Linked DNA regions of Homo sapiens: region 2 is linked to region 1. Evidence: promoter capture Hi-C in 16 types of primary human blood cells and fetal thymus (Javierre and others, 2016). All regions are on one chromosome and are shown on one strand. Each heading gives the region's core, a stretch centred on a gene start or on the middle of the fragment in contact. The rest is flanking DNA. Distances are from core to core; before and after follow the strand shown. Region 1 holds the start of NR2C2AP (nuclear receptor 2C2 associated protein). Region 2 overlaps GATAD2A (GATA zinc finger domain containing 2A).

Region 1 (4,713 bases), core at 555-3,054:
CTATTAAGGTGCAGTTCTAACATCCCCTTTCCCAGGAAGCCCTTCCTCCAGGTAGAGCCCCTGCTCCTCCGGCCCCATCTCTCCCTTGGGGCTAGGAGTGTCTATGTCTACCTCTGTCTTGCCCAGATCAGGGGCTCCTCTGGGACAGGCCTGGAGCTGAGGCCTCTTGCTGTCCCCAGCATCATCCAGCAGAAGGCTGGACATGACAGTGTGACAGTAGAGCTTGCAGGAGGTGTCTAGTGAATCAGTGAACCAAATCTTCAGCTTGGTATCTGAGGCTTTGTTTGGCAAACTCCTGTTCATGCTTCAAAACCCACCTCACAGCCTGGGTGCGGTGGCTCACACCTGTAATCCCAGCACTTTGGGAGGCCAAGGCGGGCAGATCACGAGGTTAGGAGTTCGAGACCAGCCTGGCCAAGATAGCGAAACCCCATCTCTACTAAAAATACAAAAATTAGCCAGGCATAGTGGTGCGCACCTGTAGTCACAGCTACTCAGGAGGCTGAGGCAGGGGAATCACTTGAACCTGGGAGGCGGAGGTTGCAGTGAGCTGAGATCACACCACTGCACTCCAGCCTGGGCAACAAAGTGAGGCTCCGTCTCGAAACAAAACAAAACAGAAACAACAAAAAACACCCGACCTCGCATGCTCCCTCCTCCAAGAAGCCTTCCTTGACGTCCCAGCAGCATTTTCTGGGAAAGACAAACTTGGAGGCCAGGGCTCCTCTGTCCCAACAAGAACAAAAAGGGTTGATGAGGACTTCAGATACTCCCAACATCGTGGCCTTTTCCACAACTCTGCCTTTGGCCTCCGGGAGGCAGTGAAGTTCGGGGATTCCCAGGCTGCATTTAGTGGTTAGGGTAGAGTAGGTTAGAGTAGGTTAGGGTAGCCGTTAGGGTAGAGTAGGTTAGAGTAGGAAGAAAGACATTGTCATAGGAAGTCTCTCTGGCCGGGCGCGGTGGCTTACGCCTGTAATCCCAGCACTTTGGGAGGCTGAGGTGGGCGGATCACTTGAGCCCAGGAGTTCGAGACCAATCTGGGCAACATGGCGAAACCTCATCTCTACCAAAAAACAAACAAACAAACAAACAAACAAAATAGCCTGCCGTGGTGGCGCGCGCCTACTAGTTCCAACTATTCGGGAAGCTGGGTAGGAGGATTGCTGGAGCCTGGGAGGCAGAGGTCGCAGAGAGCCGCGATCCCACCATTGTACTCCAGCCTGGGTGACAGTGAGACCCCACTTCAAAAAAAAAAAAAAAAAAAGGCCGGGCGCGGTGGCTCAAGCCTGTAATCCCAGCACTTTGGAAGCCCCGGCGGCTGGATCACGAGGTCAGGAGATCAAGACCATTCTGGCTAACACGGTGAAACCCCGTCTCTACTAAATATACGAAAAATTAGCCGGGCGTGGTGGCGGGCGCCTGTATTCCCAGCTACTTGGGAGGCTGAGGCAGGAGAACGGCGTGAACCCAGGGGGCGGAGCTTGCAGTGAGCGGAGATCGTGCCACTGCACTCCAGCCTGGGCGACAGTGAGACTCCGCCTCAAAAAAAAAAAAAAAAAAAGGAAGTCTTTCGGATTCCAAAATCAGTCAAAATCAGTGCTCTACACCTTCGGGCGCCGAGGGACAGCGCCCCGTGCGCGCAGCCAGCCTTTTCCCTACAGCTTCAAGGGAACCAAGGTAAATTCAATCATCGAACCCGGGCCCTTTAAGAAGCGAGCATGAAGGGGCGGGGTCGAACCAAACCCCACCTCTGGAGCGTCCGCGGTCGGCGCCTGAATTACAACACGCATGCGCCAAGCCCACGCGGTTCCGGGTCCCAAGATTTGGCTCCAAGAGCTATTCGCAGAGAAACAGCCTCGCACAAAAAGCCACCGCCCCCGAAACCCGCGGGAAATCTGTTTCCTGTGAAAGGCCTGGCCTCCGGGCATTGGCGGTTTCCCTGATCCTCTCTCCCAAATTTTCCGGCAGGGGATTGATCGAGGCGACATTTAGGACTGGGGTGGGCGAGGGAGTGGCGGTTCTCGTCCCAAGTTACAGGTGAGGACGTTCAGGCCAAGGCGTAGCCAAGATCGCGCCGCCCTGTAGCTTGAGGAGGCGCCGGGATTCGAACCAAGGCTGTGCCCAATCCTAAGCCCTGCGAGGTCTTGTGGAACCGACATGACCCACTCTTTGGTTTGTCCAGAGACAGTGAGCAGGTAAGAGTCTGTGGGGACAGGCAGTGGCGAGGCCCTAAGCCTGGGGTCGAGCCCTCAGTGGACAGATCTGGGGGTCAGGCCCTCCGCGGAGCTGAGAGCTGGTCTCAGCCCCTCTCTTCGCCTTGATCCTGGTGCCTCCAGGGTGAGTTCAGTGCTGAATCGCAACACTCGGCAGTTTGGAAAAAAACATCTTTTCGACCAGGATGAGGAGACATGTTGGAACTCAGACCAGGTGAGGCGCCTCCCTCGACCCTCCATCTCTAGGGTGATTCAGATTCAGATCTCATGCCTTGAGAACGTCAGGGGGCCCTCATGGGTGGCCAGGAAAGGAACATGTGCCGAATTTCCTTCTTCCCCTCCATTCCAAGAACTATGTGAATGAGACAGGCATAGCAGGGCTCTGTGCCTGCAGTGAGCTTGCGCCTCAGTTTCCCTGTCTGCTTCCAGGGCCCCTCCCAGTGGGTGACGCTGGAGTTTCCCCAGCTCATCCGTGTCTCCCAGCTGCAGATCCAGTTTCAGGGTGGCTTCTCCAGTCGCCGGGGCTGCCTGGAAGGTACTAGAAGGCCCTGGGTGGCAGGGGTTCCAGGGGTCACCCCAGACACTCATTGCCTTTCTCTGCTGAAGGTTCACAGGGCACTCAGGCTCTCCACAAGATTGTAGATTTCTACCCTGAGGACAACAACTCGCTTCAGATATCCTGCCCCTGCTTCTGGGGTGGGTGGTCTGTGCCTCTGGAAGCTTTGGACTCACCCAAACCCGAATGGGAACCCTGATGTGTGATCTTGAACACGTGACCTCTAGGACTCCACTTTTTCTGTAAAATGGTGCTGATGACCACCTGTTCTGTGTGAGAGGCTTAGAGGGACCTGCAGCTTCCCCAGGTTGCCCACATCGGTGGAGTGTGAGCTGGGTCTGGAAGGGGTGGGGGCCTGCGGGTGGGAAACCAGAAATCACCAGTTTCCCTTGACTGCCCACGCTCACACTTTCCCCATACCAGCTGCTGAAGTGGACCGGCTGAAGGTGACGTTTGAGGATGCCACTGACTTTTTTGGCCGTGTGGTCATCTACCACCTGCGGGTGCTTGGGGAGAAGGTGTGAGACCTCTAGGGGCTGTCTCCTCCAGGAAGCCCTCCGGGAAGCACAGCAAAGTCCCTCATTCTGCACAGAAGGTTTATTGGTTCCTCTTGGGAAGGGTCCCCTCCCACCACCTGTCCAGAAGCTGCCTTTGAAGTCAGTTCTGGGTTTCCCCAGCTCTGGCTGACCATTTTGTTCCCTGAGTGTCTGAGTCCCCGGCAGGCGGCCTTCACTCAGGGTCAGCGGGCACCAGGTTGCTCTGGAAGAGCTTGAGGATGTGGTTCTCGATCACCTGTTGCACTGAGATGGGGCAGGGAAAAGGTGGGCTGTGAGCTTGAATCGGGAGTGGGGTGGAGGCACAGGCCAACCTGCGCTCTCCCCTTAGGGGACAAACAGGGACCCTTGCAGAGACCTGCATTACAGAGCAAAGCTGGGAGAACCGAGGACTCACCCCAGGAACCTCAACTTCCCCTAAGTTTGTAAAAATGCACTTTTGTAGCTTTTCAGAATTAATATAAAAATATTTCCTACCAAGCAAAATGTGTGAATTGTGACTTTCATGAAAAGATGAGCCTGGGCATGGTGGCTCACACCTATAATCCCAGCACTTTGGGAGGTCCAGTGGGGAGGACTGCTTGAGCTCAGGAATTTGAGGCCAGCTTGGGCAACAGAGCAAAACGCTGTCTCTACCAAAAAAATTTAAAAATTAGGCTGGGCTTGGTGGCTCACACCTGTAATCCTAGCACTTTGGGAGGCCAAGGTAGGTGGATCACTTGAAGTCAGGAAAGGCCAGCCTGACCAACATGATGAAACCCCATCTCTACTAAAACTACAAAAATTAGCCAGGTGCAGCCGGGTGTGGTGGCTCATGCCTGTAATCCCAGCACTTTGGGAAGCTGAGGCGGGTGGATCACCTGAGGTCGGGAGTTTGAGATCACCTGACCAACATGGAGAAACCCTGACTCTACTAAAAATGCAAAAAATTAGTTGGGCATGGTGGTGCATGCCTGTAATCCCAGCTACTTGGGAGGCTGAGGCAGGAGAATTGCTTGAACCTGGGAGGCGGAAGTTGCAGTGAGCCGAGATCACGCCATAGCACTCCAGCCTGGGCAACAAGAGCGAAACTCCATCTCAAAAAAAAAAAAAAAAAAAAAAAAAAATTAGCCAGGTGTGGTGGCAGGCACTTGTAATCCCAGCTATTCAGGAGGCTGAGGCAGGAGAATTGTTTGCCTGGGAGGCAGAGGTTGCAGTGAGCCGAGATTGTGCCACTGCACTCCAGCCTGGGTGACAGAGCGAGACTCTGTCTCAAAAAATAAATAAAAAAGATTTTAAAAATTAGCTGGGTAGAGTGGTACATGCCTGTAGTCCCAGCTACTCAGGAGGCTGGGGAAGAAGGATCACTTGAGCCCAGGAGTTTGAGACCAGCCTGGGCAACATAGCGAGA
Region 2 (4,713 bases), core at 873-3,372, 300 kb before region 1:
ATTGTTTGCTGTCCTTTTTTAAAAGCTCAGTCCAAGTTCTTTAGGTTAACGTCATGTGCAGCATAGCTCAGCATCAAAAACCCTACGGCAGAGCAGCAAGGATCATCCCTTCTGTGATGAGAATATTTGTATAGAGAAGTCTCTCCCCTGCCTCTACGTCCAATAGGAGAGCAGGAGCCACGGGGCCCAGCGGGGCTGCCACTGGGTTGCCTCATTCCCTCTGCCCTGAAGCTTTTGCTTCACCGAGGTCCGTGGAGTACAGGTAAGACCAGGCACAACTAGCACTGTGGGCTGTTCCACTCTGAGAAGGGCCGCTACAGACCTCGTCAGAGGGGTGGTTCCTGGTCACCGTAGAGTTCCTGGGATGAGGTCAGGACGGCCATAGCTGTGGGAGGTTCCAAGGGCACTTGGCCATTCCAAACCCTACCCCCAACCTCCCCTACAACAGGCGAGGTGTGAACTCTGAGATCTCCCCAGCCCTGTCTACAGAGCAGCTGACAGAGGGAACCGTTTCCAGGTGCTGTTGGAGGTTCATGTCACAGGTAACAGGGGACAGTTACAATCAGTTGGGCTGGGGGCTCCCACATTCTGACGGCTTGCAGGAACCTGATCCTGGTAGGGCTCTCGGGACCAGGACCCAGGCAGTGCCTGGTTTAAGAGGGTGTGCTTTGCTGTGGGTAGAACACCCTTAACATTAATCAATAGCTATCCTGGTGCGTCCAAACCCCACACCCAGAGAGGTACTTAATAATGCCTTCACCTGGAACATCATAAACGTCATAATACAACAACCCGCTTGGGGCTTATCGTAGAGGTTATGCTGCAAGGAACTGAAAGGAAATAATGGGCTAGAGTGTTCGAGACAGCAGAAATGAAGGAAAGATTAAGGCATCTCACACTTTTGCCCCCTGGGGGGAAAAAAAAAAAGTTTACATCACAGTATGTACGTTGTCCCTGATGGAATGCTCCCTGGGGACATGGGGCCGACCCTCTCCCTTTCGAGGGGCAGCAGTCCATATGAACTCACAAGGATGGGTTGACAGCCATCAGCCCTGGAGGAACAGCCAGGCCAGGCTGGGAGAGGTCAGGAGCTGGAGCTGGGGCTGGGGGCCGGCAGGTGCGGCTCGGATCTGGCCCCCTGGTCAGACCCAGCTGACCCAAGCTGGAGCAGGCAGAGGTGACTTCGGTCTGGATGCCTGATCCCCAGCCACTGCATAGAACTGAGGTTGGTTCGCTGGGGAGGGCTTTCAGTGGGAAGAAGCCAGCCTGGGTGCTCCTTCTGGGAGGAGCTGGAAGATCTGGCCCCTGTCATGGAACAGAGAGGGCTAACAGCTCAGGGTCGTAGGAGACAGGTATTTATTTGCCAGGCACACAGAAAAATGCGAGGAATAGAAATGCTTGCATACTCTTGATTTTTTTTTTTTTTTTTGGTGTAAAAAACACACCCTCCCCTCCCACCCCAAAAAACATCAAATTCCTTCCTTTTCCCCAAATCCCTGGATCTTGGAATGAAAGCCACCCTTCCCCAATCTGTCCTCACCTCCTTCAGCCCATCCAAGTTATGCACAAAAAAACAAAAATTAGTGAGAAATTTGGGGATTTGCACAACAAAAAATTAGATAATGTTTTCCAAAACTAGGTCTTCTATGCTGTGTCAAAAAAAGTTTCCTACAGACTGAGGATATTCACACGACAGGAGCCTGGGGGTTAAATGAGCCTTTATTAGAATGTTGTAGCAGTTGTGTTTGAAGGCGGTGGCCCTACAAAAAAAAAATTAAATTAAAGTCCCTAACTGCATGGGTAGGAAAACCAGGGCTGGAGCTCAATTGGAACCAGTGGAGCCCAGAACTCATGGAGACATACGTATGTACGTGGGCACGGGACGCCCTCGCACTGGCATGAAGCCGGCCCAGCCTGCAAGAGACACGGAACGGCTTCTGCCTTTCCTCACGGAACCAGTTTTTAAAGAGTGGGACGGGAAAGAAACAAAAATGAAACTAAAAGCAGACCTGATCCTTTTAAAAACATTTTTGTAGACTCTAAAGGGAATTACAAAAAAAAAAAAAGTCTGAAAGCAAATCCTGACAGCAACCCCTAGGTTTAAGGACAGGTTCTAAACTAGACCCAAACGGAAATCCTGACATCTGTGCGCAGCGGCTCGCCGCACACCTGGACGGCACCTCCTGACCTGCACACACCTGTGCACGCTCACCTCCCAGGAGCAAGGCCAGGGTGGCTTAAGATTGCGTCCATCGAAATGAATAGAAAAAAGGAAAAAATTTAATAAAATAAACCACAACAGAAAAACCCCGCGACAGTCCCCCCTCCAGCTTTCTGCTCAGGGCTGCTGCCGACCGGATCCTCTCCTTCTCCCTTAATGGGCAGCTTCTGGAATCCCTGCTTCTCTGGCTGGGTCTGTTCTTCAGTTTGTTCTTCTGCTAAGTCTGGAAGGTGCGGGGGCGGGGGTCTCCAGAACAAGCAGCAATGGAGGCGTTCAGCTGGAGCGAGGGCTGCCTCGGCCATCCCTGCATCTGTCAGTCAGTCACGGGGGCGGGCCGGCCGTCCCTGCCAGGGGCTGTGGCACCATGAGCCGCCCACCCTCCAGGGCACAGGGCCAGCGGGATGATGCAGCGTACAACAGGGACCCCAGGGTCTGCACGGTTTACTTTTAACTCCATCATCATGAGGTGATTAAAAAAAAAAAAAATCTTTCAACTTATAGATCGCCATGGGAAGGCAGTCAAAGACTGGGAGCCTAAGACAGGGAAAAGCAAAAAAATGAAACACCCCGCTCGGTTCAGAAGCCCCGGGCGCTGGCCTTGCCCATGCGCATCACAGTGTCCAGGGTGAGCCGCCCGTGTGCCGGCAGGGGCTGAACAAGGGGGCCAGGAGCAGAACCAGCCCCCAAGGTCCACTTTTCTGCTGGTGTCGGGCAAACTAAAGGCAAAGAGAGAAAGGAAGAAAGCCCACGGGAAAGGTCCCCCAGCGATGATCCTCGTCTGCCTATGAGGCGGCACCAGCCCCCTAGCCCTGATGAAACTTTGCAGCCAAGAATTGAGGTCTTGCCTCTGCAGCATGGCCGGTGCTTGCTCTTGGGGCGGGCACGGTGTCTTCCCGAGCCAGCGGAGGGTGGTGCAGTGGGTCCTTCTAGACCAGGGGCCAGGTGGGGGAGGAGGGAGCCCGTCTTCCACGGGGCCTGGCTCGCACTATTTCCACGTGGCTGACTGGGGGATGGAGCGGGGTGGGATCATGTCCAGGAGGTACTCTCGCTGGCGGTCCACGGCCGAGGAGCTCTTGTGCACCGCCAGGCTTGGGCTGACAAACGCAAGGGTCCCGCCTGCAACAGAACAGAGCGACCAGCTGAGAAGGCCCTCGTCAGGAGGGCTCCTGGGAGGAGCCCAGCCATAGCTGCCTAGACCCCAGCCCCAATACAGACTAAGGACCCAGGAGCCCTTGCAAACCCACCCACACTACTCCTCAATCAACGTTTCAAATCCCAGGCCCCCCCAGAGCTGAAGAGTATTTAGGCAGCAACTCAATGGCCTTGACATTGCCAGGCTCTGCCAAGGTAATCCCAAGTGTGGGGCAATCATCAGAGGGTGAGCAGCTACCTACGTTCTACAGAAATGAAGGTGCTGACCACGGTGCTGCTTAGAACAGTGGAAAACCATAAACAAATGTGTGCAACAGGACAATAATGCAGGATGGAATACTATGCAGCAATGAAAAACTATCTTAGCTGGGCACGGAGGCTCAGCCTAGAATCCCAGCACTTTGAGAGGCTGGGGGGTGGGAAGACTGCTTGAGGCCAGGAGATAGAGACCAGCCTGGGCAACATAGTGAGGCCCCATCTCTAAAAAAAATATCAGCTGGACATGGTGGCACATCCCTGTAGTCCCAGTTACTCCAGAGGCTGAGGTGGGAGGATTGCTTGGGCCTAGGAGATCCAGGCTGCAAGAGAGCTATGATCGCGCTACTGCATTCCAGCCTGGGCAACATAGCAAGAAGCTTCTCCAAAAGAAGAAAAAAAAAAAAAAAAAGGAAAAAAAAACTATCTCCTACCCTCAAGTGTTGTTGTTGTTGTTTACTGGTCTCAAACTCCAGGCCTCAAGCAATCCTCCTACCTCGGCCTGTCAAAGCACTGGGATTATAGGCACGAGCCACTGTGCCCAGCTCAAATTTTAATGCGTCCAGTAAGGGTCTCTCATTAACACACAAAGTAGCCAACGCAAGACACACATTTCCACAAAGGACCCTCAAGTGAAGGGGAGACACTGGGGAAAACCCTTAAATGTAATATTTGTTCACCTGGGGGAGGAAAATACAAGCCATTGCCACAGTCTTTTCTCTCTGTATTTTCCAAATTTCCATGATGGACAAATATCATTTTTATAATTGGAAAATAAATAAATGCCCCCACCCAGCACACGCAGAATTTTTGGCCAGAGTTGGAGGTAAGGGCTGCCCCAGACCCCTTGAGATGGGGTCTCACTCTTGCCAAGGCTGGAGTGCAGTGGCACAATCAGTGCTCACTGCAGCCTCAACCTCCCATGCTCAAGCGATCCTCCTCCCTCAGCCTCCTGGCTGAGTAGCTGGGACCACAGACACATGCCATGTGCTTGGCTAATTATTTTTTTGTAGACACAAGGTCTCACCATGTTGCCCAGGCTGGTCTCAAACTCCTAGGCTCAAGCAATCCTCCCATCTCGGCCT

What was found. Contacts are between HindIII fragments. The CHiCAGO score rates a contact against its expected background, and 5 or more counts as called.
Region 2: a fragment that was not itself captured here is called in contact with the fragment with the promoter of NR2C2AP in region 1 in 1 of 17 cell types (erythroblasts); the score reaches 5.1 in erythroblasts.

What each region holds. Positions count from the first base shown.
Region 1 is chr19:19,200,505-19,205,217 of GRCh38, reverse strand. It overlaps NR2C2AP (nuclear receptor 2C2 associated protein), which reads left to right and starts at 1,804. Exons shown (of 5, transcript NM_176880.6): 1 at 1,804-2,195; 2 at 2,337-2,427; 3 at 2,643-2,748; 4 at 2,820-2,887; 5 at 3,177-3,809. The coding sequence starts at 2,158. The coding sequence ends at 3,293. RFXANK (regulatory factor X associated ankyrin containing protein) reads right to left here. Exons shown (of 10, transcript NM_003721.4): 10 at 3,352-3,569. The coding sequence ends at 3,499. RefSeq lists an enhancer at 1,604-1,898 and a silencer at 2,562-2,828. The HindIII fragment of the contact is 11,500 bases long and covers 1-2,935 here.
Region 2 is chr19:19,503,968-19,508,680 of GRCh38, reverse strand. It overlaps GATAD2A (GATA zinc finger domain containing 2A), which reads right to left. Exons shown (of 12, transcript NM_001384528.1): 12 at 1-3,337. The coding sequence ends at 3,207. Among named protein-coding and RNA genes, the nearest start is that of TSSK6, 9.2 kb to the left of the region's middle. RefSeq lists an enhancer at 3,188-3,688. The HindIII fragment of the contact is 3,777 bases long and covers 234-4,010 here.